Regions from separate parts of the Homo sapiens genome. Here regions 2 and 3 are each linked to region 1. Evidence: promoter capture Hi-C in 16 types of primary human blood cells and fetal thymus (Javierre and others, 2016). All regions are on one chromosome and are shown on one strand. Each heading gives the region's core, a stretch centred on a gene start or on the middle of the fragment in contact. The rest is flanking DNA. Distances are from core to core; before and after follow the strand shown. Region 1 holds the start of SP9 (Sp9 transcription factor). Region 2 overlaps RAPGEF4 (Rap guanine nucleotide exchange factor 4). Region 3 overlaps RAPGEF4 (Rap guanine nucleotide exchange factor 4).

What was found. The method cuts DNA at HindIII sites, captures the fragments that hold promoters and counts their contacts. A CHiCAGO score of 5 or more calls a contact.
Region 2: a fragment that was not itself captured here is called in contact with the fragment with the promoter of SP9 in region 1 in 9 of 17 cell types (naive B cells, naive CD4 T cells, naive CD8 T cells and 6 more); the score reaches 15.4 in naive B cells.
Region 3: a contact is called between a fragment that was not itself captured here and the fragment with the promoter of SP9 in region 1, in 2 of 17 cell types (neutrophils and naive B cells). The highest score is 6.9, in neutrophils.

What each region holds. Positions count from the first base shown.
Region 1 is chr2:174,333,449-174,336,306 of GRCh38, forward strand. SP9 (Sp9 transcription factor) reads left to right here and starts at 1,506. Exons shown (of 2, transcript NM_001145250.2): 1 at 1,506-1,665; 2 at 2,659-2,858. The coding sequence starts at 1,645. It overlaps LOC102724194 (a long non-coding RNA gene), which reads right to left and starts at 1,528. Exons shown (of 3, transcript XR_427194.5): 1 at 292-1,528; 2 at 109-177. The HindIII fragment of the contact is 13,141 bases long and covers 1-2,858 here.
Region 2 is chr2:173,023,105-173,025,962 of GRCh38, forward strand. All of the region lies in intron 23 of RAPGEF4 (Rap guanine nucleotide exchange factor 4), which reads left to right. Among named protein-coding and RNA genes, the nearest start is that of MAP3K20, 51 kb to the right of the region's middle. The HindIII fragment of the contact is 1,025 bases long and covers 859-1,883 here.
Region 3 is chr2:173,041,039-173,043,896 of GRCh38, forward strand. All of the region lies in intron 29 of RAPGEF4 (Rap guanine nucleotide exchange factor 4), which reads left to right. Among named protein-coding and RNA genes, the nearest start is that of MAP3K20, 33 kb to the right of the region's middle. The HindIII fragment of the contact is 8,888 bases long and covers 1-2,858 here.

The sequences.
Region 1 (2,858 bases), core at 256-2,755:
TTCTGGTTCAAAAACAGCTTCTGGCTACCCTGGAGAAGAAAGAGAAAGCGGGGCCCAGAAAGAGAAAAACAAGCAGGTCAGCGGTTGCTGGGGGACTCGAAGACGCACCCTGGTCTGCTTGAGGACGCCTCTTTTCACACTGACAAGGTCCAGGGAGGACTTCAGGATGCTTCCAGCCTGCAAAATGTGGAAGCGCCCACGTGTGGCCTGGTCCTCCGCCCTCCCGGGTGAAAGTCCTGGAGAGATTTCTCGGGCGCGTCCGTGAAAGCAGGGCACTAATGGGGAGCCTACCTCTTAAAACAGCGCACTTGCCCTACGGACGAGCCTCTAGGCCCTGGTGGTCTGGAATGGGAGTGGGTTGGAGCTGGGACAAGAAAACTCCACTCCAGGATGAAACGCGACATGCAAATCTTCACCGGGTTAAACAAACAGCCGAGCAAGCTGCAGCTTCAGCGGAGGTGGAGGTGGGGGCGGACGCCGCTCGCGCCGGTCTCTGTTTCCAAAGTTGTTACAGTGAGAAAATAAGCGGCTTCGTGCAGCGTGTTGTATGGGCTGATGCCTCCCACCCCCATGCCAGCCCACAGCAAAACCCGGCAGATAATCAGCACATCCCACTGTTTAGTCATATTTGACAACTGGGTTAACCTGGTATCTAAGCGCTGGCGAAACCGTACAAAGGGTGCCCTCAATTACCACCAGAAGCCTCTAGCGTGAGTGGCACTTGTATTACCCCCCGGGTCAGAGGCCAGAGCGACAATTAGGAAGTCACTTACACCGCTGGGGGGAAATGGCGGGATGCAGCAGGCTCCAGGCCCTCCCAACAAATCTGTGGATGTAGATCTGTACAGAGAGGCCTATTTCGCTCCTCTCGGAGGAGCTGTCCCTTCGCGCCCCCTCCCCAGTATAACTGTGAGAGTGAAATTGAATCTAGTGGAATAAGGAATTGGGTAGAAGACACACGAAAATGATAAAAATCACAAGCAAGAATGATAGATACAAGCTGAAGTTGTGTTCTGTAGGCAAAAGCCTGGACACACAAAGTGAGGGCTCACATTTCCGTCTCCACTTGGGCCCTGCTGGTGCGGGCTGTGTCTGGGTGTCTCCTCCCCTCCTGCCTCCTTTCCTACAAGTGGGGAGTCGAGTAGGACTGTCAGCCCTAACTTGCAACATCTCGGGGTGGTTTGTGTGTGGGGGGGTGCTTGTGGCTCGGTTTCATTGGTACTTAAACCTGGCTTGGTGCGTGAGTGTAAATTTTTAATTGCACTGTAATTTCTTCAGTCCCCAGCCCGCCCTCGCCCCCCCCCCGCAAGTATCCCCCACTACTCCCCCCCACCCCCGCGGCCCTAGCTAGCTGACTTGACTGGCACGCGCCGGGAGCCCGGGCTCGGGCCCCTCGGAGCGTCTGATTGGCTGCGGGGCAGCTCCGGTCTGCTCTGCCTGCGCCCTCATTGGGCGAGAGGCGCAGCCAGCGGCACTTCAAAGCGGGTGCTCCTCGCACTTAGGCTGAGTTTAGCCGGCGGGAGCCTGGAGTCCGCTCGGCACGAGCGCGGGGACGCGGGAGCCGCGCGGGACCCAAGCAGTTTTTCCGAGCAGCCGCCAGGCTCAGCCCCGCTCCCAGCCTCGCTGCGCAGCCAGAGACCTGCTATGGCCACGTCTATACTCGGGGTAAGTCGCAAGCGCGGCAACGCATTTGCTTGTTTTAACCGGAGTAATTTTTCGTTATGGCTTCTGGGGTCTGCGGCTCCGGAGAAACTGTTGCTGCTAGACTGCAGCTTCAGCTTCTATTAGCACTTTCCACATTTCTGGGACTGATTTTTCCCCAAGTTTTTGGAACCCAGAAAGATGCCTTTGCAAGAAAAGGCCTTCTTAATCAAGTCCTTTTTCATTTGGTTTCAAAAAAAAGCTAGAGGTTTCTTTTCTTCCCCTCGTGATTTATACCCCATCCCCCGCATTGCTTTGGGGATTTTGTTGCAATTATGCGACAATGGTGTTTCCAGAAAACAGTCTTAATCGTTTTGCAGTCCATCTAGTCACGCTAATAAACATTTACATTTCCGCGGCTCCCCAATTCGCCCATGACTTTGAAATCTGTCTCTGGCCGCTTATCCTCGGATTATTGTTTTCATAATCGCTGTTTTTGTGTGTATGTAAACTTTAAAACCAAACGTTTTCTATTAAAAAAGAAAAGTCAAGTCGTAGCCACCCTGGGAGAGCTGCAAGTTTCGCCCGTCCCTGGCAGCTGTTTCGGCCGCCTCCGCCCTCACCCGGTGTTTGTTGTCTCTGGTCTCTGTGTTTACCTTCGCGCTTCACCCCGAAGGGCGACTTGGGGTCTTCTGGGAGATGAGCCGGTTTACGGCGACAACCCAAGTCCGGTTGTAGGCAGGGTTGCAGCGGGGAACACGGAGGCATCTTTGATTTATAGCCTCAGCGAAGTGCAACTTTCCGGCGCCTGGACCTTCGCCCGGGTGATCGCCCCTGCTCCGCGCCCGGTGCGGCGACTCCTCCGCGGGCGCGTGGGGAGGAGGCGCGAGGCGGGGAGCCAGGACCCCCCGGGAGCAGCCGCAGGGGACGAGGCTGCTCACGGGTGCACTTTGTTTCTTCCCCCACTTCCTCTTGCCCTCCTCCTTCTTGCTCCCTCCCCCATCCCACCCACTCTAGGAAGAGCCGCGCTTCGGAACGACCCCGTTGGCCATGCTGGCGGCGACCTGCAACAAGATCGGCAACACGAGCCCGCTGACGACGCTGCCAGAGTCGAGCGCCTTCGCCAAAGGCGGCTTTCACCCCTGGAAGCGCTCCTCGTCCAGCTGCAACCTCGGCTCCAGCCTCTCGGGCTTCGCGGTGGCCACCGGGGGCCGTGG
Region 2 (2,858 bases), core at 121-2,620, 1.3 Mb before region 1:
CATAGCAGAGCTAGACACAGAGGGTGTGGGCACACGAGGAAAGGAAGATGCTCCGGGTAGCTTACCTTCACCATCTCTTTGTCACTGACAATCCACACATCCCTTTTATGTCTTAGTCTCCTCATCTGGAAAATGGGAGGATAACAATGCTACTCTCCCAATTACCCCTCTCCAGCCTTAGCAAAGAAATCATGGCTCAAAAACCGTGGGGAGAAAATGCATGGGAGTTCTGTGTCTGTGGGTAAGCAGCTTTCAGATCTGTCTGTGCGATGCAGGCTCCACATAAGCTCTGCTGTGCCTTATCTGTAGGACATTTCCACAGGGCTATGTACAAGAAAATGGCCCAAGGAGGCGCTTCCTCTGGGGTCCAGGGTGAGCATTTATATTCCCCACTTCTAAGGGAGAAGCACCTTTTGCTGCTCACATTGCCTCTTCCGTGGCTCATGGAAGGGGTCAACCTGCCCTACGCCGGGAGAGAGACTTGGTGAGCCCTGCCCACTGAAAGAAAAGTTGAGACTCAACAGAGCTTTCCGTTACTCTCAAAAGGGTTGCAGGAGTGATAGACCAGCATCCACGACTAAAAGAACTTTGCATATTTCTTAATATTAGACTCTTCCCTGTGTTGTTAGGTAAACTTGTCCCCCTTATGTAAAGTTATAAAGCCTCAAGGAAAAGAAGGAGCAAGGTGTACTGGGTATCTCCAATCCTGAGGAGAGAGCAAACAGCAGGAATAACGTAGGAGGGGCAGCTCCGCAGAGCAGCAGAAGGGCTGTGTTCACAGCAGCTGCAAGAGGGAAGGAAGAACGTGCAAGGCCAGTTTGATCCTCTGAGAGGCAGTCGTAAACCCTAAAATGTATAAGCTTCCCCAACTTTTTTTACCTAGGACCTACCCTGGTTGAAATCATTCTCCTCATTTGTTTCCATATGCTACTTGCCCATCAGCTTCGGTTCAGTTCCCTAAGATTTAAAACTTTGGAATCACTTTTCTTCCCTGTCCTCTGTCCCCTGTGTAGAGTAAATTGGGAGCAACAGTATTTCGCTCCTACATCCAGGTGTTGTACTGATCACACTTTTCTGTGTATTTGCATTGCTACAGCACTTCTTTTTTTTATTATTTTTTTTTTTTTTTTTGAGACGGAGTCTCGCTCTGTCGCCCAGGCTGGAGTGCAGTGGCGGGATCTCGGCTCACTGCAAGCTCCGCCTCCCGGGTTCACGCCATTCTCCTGCCTCAGCCTCCCAAGTAGCTGGGACTACAGGCGCCCGCCACTACGCCCGGCTAATTTTTTGTATTTTTAGTAGAGACGGGGTTTCACCGTTTTAGCCAGGATGGTCTCGATCTCCTGACCTCGTGATCCGCCCGCCTCGGCCTCCCAAAGTGCTGGGATTACAGGCGTGAGCCACCGCGCCCGGCCTGCTGCAGCACTTCTAGAAAGTGAACTGATTTGGGGGAGGGGACCTCTTTTGTGCCAGGCACTGTATTTACATGATTCACTGAAATCACTCCTATCCAGTTCTCTTAACAAGCCTAGGTATAGGTATCATGACCCCAATTTACCAGAGCTGGAAACAGACACTCAAGAGATTAGGGAATCAATCCAAGTCTACACAGTTAGAGTAGGGTTTATATTCAGAGTCACTTGCTCTCTAAAGCTGACACTAACCTGGTCTATTATCTAGTCTATTACAAAACACAAACTCCTAATCTGGTACACGAAGATGTGCTACTAACTGTTCACACTGTCCATGGGGACCCCCTGTGCTCTCTGCTCCTGCCAAGCAAGTTTCATGACAGCTTCCCCATCTTCATGCTCTTGTTGCCATCCTTCCACCCCAAGGGACCATCCTGGATGCTCAGGGAAAACCTTGCTATTCTCACCTGCCCAAGCTTGTCTGCTTCATCTTTTAAAGCCCAGCTTCTTCAAGATCCTGTTCAGACCACACATTCATTCCAAATACCCAATAACTTCCCAAAAATTCATTCATGTTCCCCTCCTGTTTATCTCTGTACCTGGGTGTCACATGTGTTGTTGCTTCTGTCCCTTTATACCTGCAAATAAGGACCAGCAGCAGATGCTGCCTCTGTGGAGTGCTGTATGGGCCAGACAGGGTTGATTCCCTTCAACTGTAACCTTGCTTGGTCCTCTCTTAGACTGTAAACTTCCAAATGCAAGCACCGTCTACCTGCAGAACATGTAATTTCTCTAGTGCCCAGAATGCAGTGGGAGTTTGTAGAATACAGTGATGATGATGAAAATGATGATGGAACTTGTATAATATTAGGACTTCTGACATGGATAGTATCTAAATATAGTTAGCATCATTTTGTTTTTATTTTTTATTTTATTTTATTTTTTTGGAGATGGAGTCTCATTCTGTCGCCCAGGCTGGGGTGCAGTGGCACGATCTCGGCTCACTGCAACCTCTGCCTCCTGGGTTTAAGCGATTCTCCTGCCTCAGCCTCCCGAGTAGCTGGCACTACAGGTACATGCCACTACGCCCAGCTAATTTTTGTATTTTCAGTAGAGACAGGGTTTCGCCATGTTGGCCAGGCTTGTCTTGAACTACTGACCTCAGGTGATCCACCCGCCTTGGCCTCCCAGAGTGCTGGGATTACAGGCGTGAGCCACTGTGCCAGCCACTTTTGTGACTTTTGGAACTTTGTAATGTGTGTGTTGCCTATTTATATATAAATCTATTGCATTATACGTGTGCTTCCTATATATGCATATCATTCATCTCACTAAGTAAAAACACTTTAGATCATTTCTCATAAAATAAAACTGAGATAAGCAAGTCAGATGGAAACTTTTAGTGAGGGGTCTTCCAGAAAGTAGCAGACGTTGGCTTTCTAATGTCTA
Region 3 (2,858 bases), core at 215-2,714, 1.3 Mb before region 1:
AAGGTAGTCATTTTATTTGGAATGAGAAGCATAGGGCAAACTTTTATACTTCTGTAAACATTACAGAAGCTAATTCATTAAGGAAGAGAAATGTTTTGAATCCTTTTATTTTTGTATCACTAAGCATGTCATTACATAATTAGCAACAATATGTTTTCTATCACCAATAATATTATTATAAGATTCATGGAGAGAGCACTTCACTTGTTACCTCAATCTATGGAAAAAAAGAATCTCTAAGTAAAAATCTACGTGTTCAAGTCCACCCTATTCCCAGAGCTCTCCAACACAAAAGAAATCTATGGGAGTACTTTGAGAGTTTACATCTTTGTATAGATTTCCCAGGCCAGGCTAAATGCAGATTTCCAAACGGTATGCTTCAAAACAACATAATGTGTGGAGTGTCCAGGCAAAAGAATTTACTAAGAAATATAAACATCTAGAAAGTAACCCTGGGCCTTTAGATTACCTGCAGTTGGGAAGAGAAAACATAAACACATGAAATATTAAAAATCCACATAAGATATAAAAACTAGGTCACAATAGTAATAAAAGATGTCAGAAAGCAAAATGCAGGAAAGAAAACTTCATGCAGTTTTATCAATGGAAAATAAAACCACATTATATGCAGTGACATAATATCAGAAGATCTAGACTAGCCCTAAGCACCTGTCCAGCCTCATCTGACACTTTGTCTTCTCTGTATCCAGTCCAAGTTGGTGAGACTGACCTGCCTTCTTCTCCTTTTGGCCTCAGGGTTTTTTGTACTAGCTGTTACCTTTGCCTGAAATTGTCTTCCCCCAGTTGTCTGCTGTCTGGTTCCTCGTCAGTCAGGCCTCAGCTCACAGGTCCCCTCCTCCAAAATAGTCTTCCCTAACCACCCTTGTGGGAAGGGAAGAAGATCACACATCTTCCCTGATCTCCCCTCCTCCCTGTGGTGCTAACTGTGCCTGACCTCCGTGTAACACCGTTCTGCGACACCCAGCACTCTCCAACACAACCTTGCCTTGATAGGGGTTTCACAGCCTGGGATTATCTTCCTGCCTCTTCAATGTCTTCCCTACCAGAATGTAAGTGCCCTGGCCCAGGTATCTGTTTTGTTCACTGATATTTCTCCAGCACCATAAAAATATCTGACGCATTATTTCCCCAGCACCCATAAAAATGTCTGGCACATCGTAAGTATGCAAGAAGTACTTGTTGAATAAAATGTAATGTTTCAGTGTTGGGCTTAGTGCACGAAAGCATTTTTCAAATATTTTATGTAATAAATCCAAAAGTGTCTTCTATTTTATTAGAAAATTGGATGAATCAACTGGGCACAGTGGCTCACGCCTGTAATCCCAGCACTTTGGGAGACTGAGGCGGGTGGATCATGGGGTCAGGAGTTCAAGACCAGCCTGGTAAAACCCCATCTCTACTAAAAATACAAAAATTAGCCAGGCATGGTGGCGGGCGCCTGTAATCCCAGCTATTCAGGAGGCTGAGGCAGGAGAATTGCTTGAACCCAGGTGGCAGAGGTTGCAGTGAGCCGAGATCGTGCCACTGCACTCCAACCTGGGCAATAGAGTAAGACTCCAAATCAAAAAAAAAAAGGGAAAGAAAATTGGATTAACCAAAATGTCCCAAAGCATTTTGCATAACTGAGACATTATAAAAGATGACTTTCCCTTAGCCTCTGTTCCTAACCAGACATTATTCTGTCCCCCCTCCTCCCTGTGGTGCTGTGTCTGTCCTCCAGTGTCCCTCCCTGAGTACATAGAGGTATACATGCTCTACACGTGCCTGGAAAGGCACCTGAACTGTCTTCTCCCATGGTCATCATATATACCACATACCGTAAGCATCATGCATGTGTTACACATGCGTATCTGCATGTCATACACCTCTTGGATACTAAAGATCTGTAGGGAGACCGGACTCAGGGCTCCTCCTCAATGATGCACACAGTGAAGGCTAGTTCAGCTTCAATTCCCTTTTATCTCTGGTCCTCACTGTGCCTGGCCATTTGGTTGCTATCACAGGCACAATCTTTGTTAGGTGAGACACTGTGTATTTCTGGATCTTGTGAAAAAAAAAATTCTTGTCCCAAATATGTGGAGGTCTGAGTGAAATAATCAAATGGTGTAAATGTGGTTTTACACATGCTAAGCAAGGAGTAATTAACAAAGGTCCTATATTTGATAGGCATAGGTCTGGAGACAGAATCAAATCGGTAGAGGCAGAAATGTAAGAAAAAGCAATCTGGCAAACATTAAGAGCAAGGATGGTACAGATCTTAAGGGGCAACAGAAGGAAGATCAAAACTGTTGAGGGCAGGCATTTAGAAGAGGCCTGACGGTGAGGAGCCGCTTCCTGAGGGATCTGAGCAGAGGCAGAATAATAGGCTAAGAGGAAGGCTATTGTGGCCGCTGTCTGGGAGCGGGAGGTCCTAGAGTGGTACCAATGAGGTGGCGTGGCCTGGAGGGCCTGCCGGTCAGAACTTGAAGAATGAAGTCTTCTCTTCCGCAGTGGGAGAGCAAAGGGGGAACTTGGACTAGGGCACAAGAGTCAGTGCAAGCTGGCTAGGAAGGTGGGGGCAGCCACAAAGTCCTGGTAGGCTATGTCATGTCTTTATAGGAGTGAAAGTGGAACTTGGCTGGCCTGCTCCTGAGGGGAGGACACCACAGAAGGGTGACGCCTGCCAAGAGCCAGGCCGCAAAGGCCCAGTCTGAGAACAAGGTACCTCTGACACCTCAGCGGACTCAAGGGAAATTCCCTGCATCAGAGCTTGAGGGAAATTTGTGTTTGGGATGCCGGCCTCAGAGCCTCTGGCTTGTGCCAGGCCGAGGTGCAGACAGTGGTCACCCCTTCCTCTG